2 separate regions of the Homo sapiens genome follow, and region 1 is linked to region 2. The links are contacts of gene promoters, found by promoter capture Hi-C in human tissues and cell types (Jung and others, 2019). All regions are on one chromosome and are shown on one strand. The core of a region is centred on a gene start or on the middle of the fragment in contact, and the rest is flanking DNA. Distances in the headings are between cores, read along the strand shown. Region 1 has its middle 130 kb from the start of OTOS. Region 2 holds the start of GPC1 (glypican 1).

Evidence for each region. Contacts are between HindIII fragments. The study calls those that stand out against the background at their distance.
Region 1: a contact is called between a fragment that was not itself captured here and the fragment with the promoter of GPC1 in region 2, in 1 of the 25 tissues and cell types used here (dorsolateral prefrontal cortex).

Annotation. Positions count from the first base shown.
Region 1 is chr2:240,271,093-240,276,361 of GRCh38, reverse strand. No RefSeq gene overlaps it. Among named protein-coding and RNA genes, the nearest start is that of OTOS, 130 kb to the right of the region's middle. The HindIII fragment of the contact is 5,374 bases long and covers 1-4,245 here.
Region 2 is chr2:240,432,490-240,437,156 of GRCh38, reverse strand. GPC1 (glypican 1) reads right to left here and starts at 1,494. Exons shown (of 9, transcript NM_002081.3): 1 at 1,073-1,494. The coding sequence starts at 1,238. RefSeq lists enhancers at 1-121, 1,855-2,431, 2,831-3,125 and silencers at 1,246-1,305, 1,366-2,025. The HindIII fragment of the contact is 16,928 bases long and covers 1-4,667 here.

The sequences.
Region 1 (5,269 bases), core at 309-2,808, 160 kb after region 2:
TAAATTTTCTTCTAATTACAACATTAGCCTCATCTCATGTGTTTTGATATGTGGTATTGTGGCTACCAGGACTTTACCGGAATTTTTTACTGTATTAGTCCATTCTCACACTGCTATAAAGAAATACACAAGACTGGATAATTTGTAAAGGAAAGAAATTTAATGGACTCACAGTTCCACATGGCTGGGGAGGCCTCAAGAAACTTACAATCATGACAGAAGGCAAAGGGGAAGCAAACACCTTCTTCACAAGGCTGCAGGAGAGAGAAGAATGAAGGAGAAACTTCCAAACCCTTATAAAACCATCAGATTTTGTGAGAACTTACTCACTATTACCAGAACAGCATGGGGGAAACTGCCTCCGTGATCCAATCACTTCCCTCCCTTGGCACATGGGGATTACAGTTTCCTCCCTCAACACGTGGGGATTATAATTTGAGATGAGATTTGAGTGGGGACATACAGCCAAATCACATGAGTTACGATTTTTTATTTTTTCATTAAGCAAAGAGTTAAGAAAGATTTTGGAAAGCTTCCAAGTGGTTTGGTATTTTTCTGTTTTCCCTCTTTTGTGATAGATATCTAACTTATTGCAATGTGGTCAGAGAATGTGGCCTGTATGATTTCAACATTTAAAAAAAATAATTTTCCAAGATGTTCTTTTTGGTCCAGGATCTGGTTTGATGCCCCAAGCCATCTCTCTTAGGTAGATATTCTTAAATGACTCACGGGTGTTTGAAAAAATATCCACCTGATGTGTCTTTGGGGAACAAAGTCTGAGCCACAGAGCCAAGTGTATTAATCATATCATCGTGTTCAAACCTCTTCTGCTCTTCATCTCTCAAGGCTGGCTGGGTGTTCACAGTCCCCTGTGTGTTCATTGCTTCTGAGCTCTCAAAGTCTGTGATGTCTGACTTAAAGTGCTCCTGGGGATGCCCTGGTTGGAGACAGTGGAGAGGAGGAGGGATTCAGAGCTATTTTAAGCAGGAGATAGGGGCTCCAAAAACACAGCTTCCTCATCTCTGACACAGAAAGAGCAATTGTGAGAGTTGTCTGCAGGAGTGAATCACAAATCGATGATTGTAAATTGTATAGAACCATGCAAGGCACATAGCAAATGTTGGCTTTGTGTGGAATTGTAATTTTTAATACGCAGACAACCTTTTGACATCCTTCTACACGTTTCCAGTGGTATTGTACTTTTTTCTGATGTCCTCACTTGCATCTCTGTTCTTTCTTTACTGTGCATCTCCCTGGTTCTGGGCTTCACATGGTGCACAGCAGAACACTCCTTGGAACCCACGCGGGCTGCTCTGGGGGGCTGCCTGAGCTCCACAGTGCTGCTGTGTTTGATTTTCCACAGCTTGTGAATGAGAAAGAGAGTTAGATTTTATCTTCTGACTCATTTGATAGTTGGATGTTCTCTCTCTCGGTCTTACTGTAATCAGGTTTTATTTGGTCTTATTTTAAGTCGTCTGTTATGCTTCCTGTTGTTTCACGCTTCCATGCTTTGCTATTATTATTCATTATATTGCTAAGGTTATTTTCTTGCTGACTCTTTTTTTTTTGTAATTTAAAAGCAAAACGCTTTTATTCTACCAAGTCCACCTTACTTAATCCCCATATTTATACCTCTATTTCTCCACCAGCATTAATAATATACCAACAACTGTCTTTCACCCCATATAAAATGAGAAACTTTAGCATGCTCGATTTTCTCCTTTCCTTGCTTCCAACACTCAGGTTTTGTTTGACTAACACGGGCATCTTGTGCTTGATTTATGACACATTTTATTTGTTATGTATTCTTGCAATAACTATTTTTGCCTTTACACTCTATAAGCATATTAATCATCTGGACATTAATATATGCCCTGCTGGGTTGGATTCCTACTGTCATGTCTTTGGACCATGCCTTCCTTGTAATCTTTATTTTCATCCAGTTCTTGCTCATCTAACCTTTTGAGTCCTATATCTATGAACGTATCTCTCTATCATCCTCACAATGTAAACACTGGCCTGAGAGAATACAGAAATCTTGGGTGATGAATTTTGGCTCCTCGAAAGTCTGAGTTGCTGTCCTGTTGTCCAGTTGCATTTGGTGCCCTGAATGAGGACTATGATAGTGACATTCCCTCCCTCTGCTCTTAACCATTGAGGTTTCTCCCCCAACCTGAATGCCTGTAGGACTTCTTCTTGATCTTTGAAATGTGAAGAATACCTCAAGGTTATCCCTCCTGTACCTTGGCCGGCCCTAATCTCAGGGACCTGTGGTTGGTGGCTCACTTTGCTGTGCCACTGATGTCTTGTCTCATGGAACACTGGGCCCCAGTGTGAGGGGCTCTCTCATACCCAGGACACCTTTCCCTCTTCCTGCCTGTGACCCTTGGTGGGGATCTTTGCCCCCATGAGACTAGTTTTTCTATTCTCCTCCCCAGTTCTCTGGGAAGTAGAGGAAGAAGCAGTGTTGCAACTTGAGCTCCTCCCTCTCATGATATGTTCTCTATCCATTTTCCCAAATGACCCTCTTCTGCTCAGAGACTATGGGCACAAGCTGAGACATGGATTGGAGGTGGGGGTGGTTCATTAGTCAAGCCCAGCTTCTTTATATGGCCAGAATTGTGGCTCTTTTGCATTAATCCCACTACCTCCCCTTATGGCTGTCAAAAACTTCCTTATCCATTGCTGTGATCTGGCTCCTATGTAGCCCTTGAGCCCTTTGAAACATCTGCATGGCTCAGAATCCAATTGTAGACAAGGTTAACATTATTTCTCATCGTGGTTCCAAGCCCCATAAATTAGAGGTTGTGGTAAGATTCTTGTACAGTGCCCTTTGAATGTCCAATGAAGCTGTACACAAAATGCCAGGCTCATAGATGACCTCTGATTAATGAGAGTTGGAATGGGAAGTAGGAAAAGACAAAGGGGTAGAAGACCAGGGACTTCAACAATAAATGGCTCTCTTAAAATGACTCTTGCCTGATAAGTCCATACATTGTCTGGTCCAGTCAGAACATACCATTCAACAAACTTAAGAAAGAAGTTATGAAGGCTGATAATGGCTAAAATAGCTTTACCGGACTAGTTTTACTTAAGAAAGCAATTAAAAACTTTGAACAAACAAAAAGACAGACACTGTAATATATTTTAAAGCATTGAAGTACAACCTATAATAGAAGCTGAAGAAGACTCAATGTTTGAGGGCAGCCGACAGTCTCCATGATGTAGGGAAGACAGAACTCAAGCAAAAAGTGTAGTAAAGTTGTTTGGAAGTATCATAACATAGCATTTGGGTTCCCAAAGTAGTTGGAAATTGAGGAAGGAAATCCAATAGGAGAGGGAGTCACAGAAGGGAGAGCCACAAATCTGTGAATAAACTCCCTTCAAATCCTTGGTGATGCATATAAGGGAGATCTTAAGGAGGTTGAAGGGAAATTGAAGCTGGAAAAGCTGAATTGATATTTCAGCTGCTGCTCACAACAGAAGAGCCAGATTTGCAATTTAAATCCTGCCAAGTTACAGGAGCTTGGTAAAAAACCTTAGGCTTCCATTGAAATCCCCAAAAGATTATAACTTAGGAGTAAAGCCTATGTTCCAGAATTAAGACTTTTTTTAGCTAAAGGAAAAGTCTAAATAGAGTTACCCCCCAAAAAAAGTTTAAATAAATCTCCACAAATACAAGATGATTATCTGATAAATTAATTGCTTATTAGAAAAAAATCAACAATTTTCACAGAAAGATAATAGAATCCAAAGTCTGAACAATAGCCAATAAACAATAAAAAATGAGTAGATATGTGAAGAAACTGAAAAATGTGAGCCATAGAAAAAAGAAAAGCAATCAATGTAAATATACTGTGATTTGACCTATATTTTGGAATTAGCAGACAAATAATTTAAAATATTGTTACAGAAATGTTCAAGGAATTATGAGAAAGGCAGACTGTAATGAGTGAATGGATGAAAGAATTCTCAACATAAAATGGGAAAATATGTAAGGAACCAAACAGATACTTTAACACTTAAGTGTAAGATAGCTAAAATGAAAAAGTCACTGGATAGGCTTAGCAAAAGATTGAAGCTGGCAGAAGAAAACATTAGTAAACTTGAAAACAGATTTTTTAAATGACCAAATTTGAAGAAAGAGAGAGGAAAAATGTACAAAGAACAGTTCCTCATGACCTATGAAACATTACCAAACAACCTAATACACTTGTAACTGGAGTCACAAAAGGAATGGAGACAGCAAGTAGAGTAGACAAAATATTAGAAAAAAGGTAGAAATTCTCCTAAATTTGGTGAAAGCACAAATGTACAGATTAAGGCCAATGAACCCTAAGTCGAATAAATTCAAAGCAAACCACTGCGAGGCACACCACAAACTGTTTAGAGCTAAAGAGAAAGAGAAAATCTCGTATACAGCCTGAGGAAAAGGGCTCATAATATCGCTGGGGAAAGTAACACAAATGATGGATGACTTTTCATCAGAAATAATGGAGGCCAGAAGGCAATGGAACTACATCTTTAAAGTATTAAAAGAAAAACTGTCAACCCCAAATTCTCTCTTCATCAAAGTAAGTGACATGGACAATTCCTTGGAAGACTCAAGTTACCAATGCTGACCCTAGAAGTCACAAAATATCTAAATAGCCCTATATATTAAAGAAATTAAATGTATCAAAAACCTTCCCACAAAGTAAACTTCAGGCCCAATTTCACTGTAAAATTTTCTCAAACATTAAAGAAAAAAAATACTAATCTTACAGAAACACTTTCAGAAAACAGAAGAGAAGAAGGAAAACATTTAAACTTATTTTATGAGGTCAGGATGACCCTAATATAAAACCAGACAAAGACATTACAAACCAATATCCTTCCTGATCACAGATGTAAAAATCCTTGAATAAATTTAGGAAATTGAATCCAGGAATATTTAATAATAATAACATATTAGGACCTGATGAGGTTTACCCCAGAAATGCAAGGTTAGTTTAACATTCAAAACTCCAGTTAATACAATGCAGCACATTACCAGAAGAGAGAAAAAATGTATGTTCATCTTAAGAGATACAGAAAAAACGTTTGACAACACTTAACATCCATTTATAATAAAAACTCTCAGAAACTGGCAATAGAAGGAAACTTTCTCATAATGATAAAGGACATTTATGAAAAACTTACAGTTAACTTGATAGTTAATACTAAAATATTGAGTGTTTTACCCCTAATATCAGGAATCACACAGAAATCTGTTCTTACTACTACTATT
Region 2 (4,667 bases), core at 245-2,744:
ATCTGAGTAGCCCTCCACCCGCACTCCCACTCCCCTGGTTTCAGAGGAGCCCCCCAGAGCAGGAACCTAGTCTGTTTTGTTCTTGCCCACTGGGTCCCTGGCACGCGGTACAGACCGAGGTTGGTTCCCACACGTGGAAAGGTGAAGCTTGGGTTCCAAGAGTTCCTTAGCACACGGAGCCCACCGTTCCACCCACCCGTACACTTCTGTCCCCAAAGCTCCTCCGGGACCACAGGGAGGGAAGAGGCAGAGCCGCAGGCGGCTGCAGGGCTTAGGGGGCGCCAAGAGGGCCGCTGTTCTTACAAAGAAATGACACGGCCCCTGGGCGGGATCCAACGCGCCGACCACCTGCAGCTGGACTCGCGGCACGAGGCTGCCCAAGCGCCAGGCGGGGGCCGGCGCGTACAAGTTCTTCGACAGGAATCTCTACGAGGCGGCGGCGTTCCGCCCGCGGATAAGTGCCCAGCTCCCTCCCCACCCCTCCGCACTACCCCCCGAGGGGGTCAGCTTATAAAACCCACCTAGGCTGCCTTTGCTGGAGACCCTACGAGAATCCCCGGGCAGGACCGGAGACGCCTCCCAGAGAGGTCTGTACAGAGCAGAAGGGGTCCGCGGCCACCGTCAGCGGCGCCCCGAAAGCCCGGCCACGCCGAGCCCCACAGCGCCCCGACAGCCGGCCCCGGGGCTGGGACTCCCGGCCTGCAGGCGCGCTGGGCCGAGCGGCGGGCAGAAGACGCCCAGCTCCAGCCGTGGCCCGGGAGGAGCGCCCCGAGCCCGCAGCCCGGCGAGATCAGCTCCGCAGGGAAGAAGCCGGCGTGCGGGGGGCGGGGAGGGGCGGAGGACGACCGAGCGGGGCGGAGGAGACCCTGGCGAGGGAGTGCGGCGCGGGGCTTGGAGGCGAGGGCCGTGGGGTTGCAGAGGAGCCGCAGCGCAGGGAGCCATTCGGGGCCCGGGCGGCGGGGCGCAGGCGGCAGGATCCCGCGCCGGGGGCGAGTAGCCGCGTCGGGAAGACCAGGGTCCGGAGCCCAAAGCCCGGCCAGGCCCGGGTTCCCGGCGCCGCGCCCTCACTCACCCGAGATCTCCGCCTGGGGCACGTCGCTCAGGCTGAAGCCCTTGGCTCCGTAGATCTGGCGGACCTCGCCGCAGCTCCGGCTCTTGCTGGCCGGGTCCCCGCGGGCGCAGGCGACCAGCGCTGCGGCCGCACATAGCAGCCACCAGCCTCGGGCCCGGAGCTCCATGGCGGGGCCGGCGGCGCCCCCGGCCACCCGCCCGCGCCTCTCTCGGATCCTGGCCGGGTCCTGCGCAGTTCCCGCCCGCGAAGGGCAGAGCCAAGGTCCCGGCGCGCGCGGCTCGCGGTCCAGAGGCGGCGGCGGCCGAGGAGGCGGAGACAACAAAAGCCGGCGGCGGCGGCGGCGCGGGGCGCGCGGGGTGCGAGGTCCGAACGCTCGCTCGGGCAGCCCAGAGCGCGGCGGGCTAGCGCAGTCCCGGCTCGGCGCCTCCCCCGCCGCCGGCCCGGCCCCTAGGCGGCCGCGGGAGAGGAGAGGGGCGGGGCAGGGTGGGAGCGCAGGGGTGGGGGAGGGACTGGGAGCACCGGGCGGGGCGGGGCGGGGCGCGGCGCGGGGGCGCGGGCCGGGGCGCACTGGGCGCTCCTCTGGCTCTTAGGGACCCAGAGGGCCCGCCTGGCCGCGCGACTCTATCGATCCCCGGCGGGAGGCGGCGGAGCCGGGCAGCGCGGGGCCGCGGCCGGGGTCCCCGAGGGCGGCCCCCCACGCCCAGCGCCCAGGGCGGTGGCACCACCTGTGGGGGCGGGGACGGGGGCGGAGGGTGCGCGAGGCAGGGCTTCCCCCGCCGGACGTGACATCACGCCTCCCGCGCCCCAATCAGGGGCCTCCCCGCCCCCAGCCGAAATCGGCATCCCGCTCCCCGCTCCCTCCCGCGCGCTCCGGCTTCCTGCACCCTGGCAGCGCGCCCCGAGAACGCTCTCCCGGCGCCTCCGTACCCTCCGCCCGCCGGCCGCGCCTCGAGCCGCCGCCCCTCTCCCCGCCTGCACCCCGCAGCGGCTCCCTCCCCGCGCCCTTCCAGCCGTCTCGCGCTGGGCTCCGGCTCGCACCGGGGGCTTTTGTGGTGTGGGGGCTGCACGCAGGAAACTCGCCAAGAAACTCGACCTCACCTCTCCCAGTCCCAGGGAGCGGCAACAGATGGCTTAATTGTTGGACCTTGACAGCTGTTTTGGGGGGGTGACCCTCCACGTTCTTTGGATGCTGGAGAAACCAAAGTGATGGGGCAGGGCCGGTCTACTGGTTTGGGCTGCTGGGTGGGGCCAGATGACCTCTGGAGAAGGGATAGGGTTGGAACCCGGCGACTAGTTAGGCCACTGGGGGAGGAGGGTGGAGTGAGCCGGAGCAGATGCCTCTTTGAAGAAGGCGGGAGGGCTGCCTGCACCTTGTATGGTAGGAGGGCGCGTGGCTTTAGCTGCACATGGGGAGTTGGGCTGGATGGGGTCTGTAGGGAGGGGGCGAGGACTGCGATGTTGGTGTCTGGAGGGCTTCACTCCTTCCTTGGCTCCCAGACCCCCCACCCCGGCCCCCTGTTCTCCACATGGTAAGGCCTGGCGGTGAAGCCAGGTGCCTGAGCTGCAGAATTGGGGGCAGGCATAGAGGTCAGTATCCTTGGCAGAGAACCTCAAGATGACCCCCATGTACAGCAAGGGTGTCCTGATTTCAGGGCCTGTGGCATCACCTGGAAGCTGCAGCGGGGTCCGTGGTGGGGGTGGTGGCAACATTCCCTACCCCTTCTGTGCCTGGGGCTCTCAGCCGCTGTGTGGGGCTGGAGCAGGAAGGTGGGGTGCCCTCCCCCTGGGCTCTTGGGGTTTCCTGCCCTGCCTCCCAGAGAAGGTTGCTCCTTCACCCAGAGACACTGAGTCATTGCTGGAGAGGGAGGCTTTGGGGACCCAATCCAAGTGTGCATTTCCCTGCCCTCCCCCACATACCCTCTGCTGCGTCACATTTTGTGACTCACAGACCCCTGTTCAGTACATGCTCCAGGCTTGCTCCTTCTTGCCTGGGCCTGGCGTGGCTGCCTGCACACCTTATCCAGCACGGTCAGGAGCCTGGGCCCACGATCCCGCTCTCTCTCTGTGTGGTCTCACGCACTGCGGGATCAGGCAGGGCTGCCTGGGCCTAGGAAGCTGGACTTGAGGTTAACCCGGCCTGAGGCTCTATAGTTACCCCGTCACTGTCTACGCCTCCTCTTAATCTGACCAGGTTGGGTTATTCCTCCAGGCAAGTCCTTCCTCCAGCCTAGTTCTGGGCCTCTGGATGGCAGTGTGGACAGCAGGGCTTAGAACGCGATGGTGGCAGCCTCTGCCTGGCCCTGGTGACCCCTGGGTGGCTTCATCTCCTAAGGAAGTCCTTACCACCATCGCAGGTCCTGGAATCATTCCCATTCCGCAGGCCAGGAGACCTGTAGCCAGGGCCTTCCCTGGAGAGGATGCACATGCCGCCGGGGGCATTGGAAGCAAAAGCCGTGTTTGCACCTGGGAGGAGCCGCAGGATCCTGAGCAGCTGCAGCTACCCCTGCTTCCCTCCTGGCAATGCTGCACACGCCCGCTGTCACCAGGGCAGGAGCCGCCAGGCTGCCCGTGCTAGTCGGGTGCAGGGTCCAGACTGGGACTCTGGGAGGATGGGCAAGGCTGATCAGCCCCCTCTTCCACCGCTGTCCCTGGGGCCGCTCCACACAGGACACGTGGATGGGTTTGAGGACATAGTTGATGCCTCGAATCCCAGCCACCACAGTGACCCTTGTGGCTCTGACCAAGACCACCCCCTCCTGCTTTGGTGTCTTTGCCTGGCTAGACAGTGGGGGCACACGTATGCGACACAAAGAAGGAATGAATGAGCAAGTGAGGAAACACCTGAGAGGAAAAGTTTGTCCCTGAGAGTGGGCGTGTGGCGCAGCCTGGACCTGCTCTTCCACAGGTGCAGTGAGGGCAGAGGACACTTAGCATTGTCTGACGGGCTGAGGCAGGCAGTGCCTGTTGGGCCAGGGCGTGGGGGCCTCCCTTCCATGCCCCCATCTTCTGTGGAGGACCCCAGGTCCTGGAGGGCGTGTACTGCTGGCTTAGGGCCCACTCCTGCCTCTGCCTAGGGAGGGTGGGGGTCTGCGGGATGCTGAGCCTGGTCTCTGCTCAGAAGACACAGGGAGCGCCGGGGGGCCCGCAGCTCCCAGCCGTTCGGACGGCAGGTCTGCCCAGAAATTATCCTACTTTTGCTCCGTGGAACCCTCGTGAGTGTGCACGCCCTTGCCCGCTGCCATGGACGGACAGCTTCCCTTTCTGTTTGGTTTCAGGGATTGTCTTTCGGAGACTCCAAAAGTAAGTTTCCAAACAGACTGAGCGATTGTTGTCGCTGCCATCCATGGCTGCCTTCTTGTGAATGTCACTGCCTGTAGCATCCCTACCTACGAGAGCCCTGTCCTACTGGCCGTGGGAGGCAGGAGTGCGCGCGTGTGCCTGCAGACAGCAGGGGTTCAAGGGCGTGGACTAGGGCTGGCTGGGATGTGGCATCTGATCTGTTAGAGCACCCAGGAGGTGTTTTGGTGCCCTGGGGCATAGTGGAGGATGTAGGGTCCCCACACCTCTGTGGGGGTCTGGGGACCCCTTGGGCAGC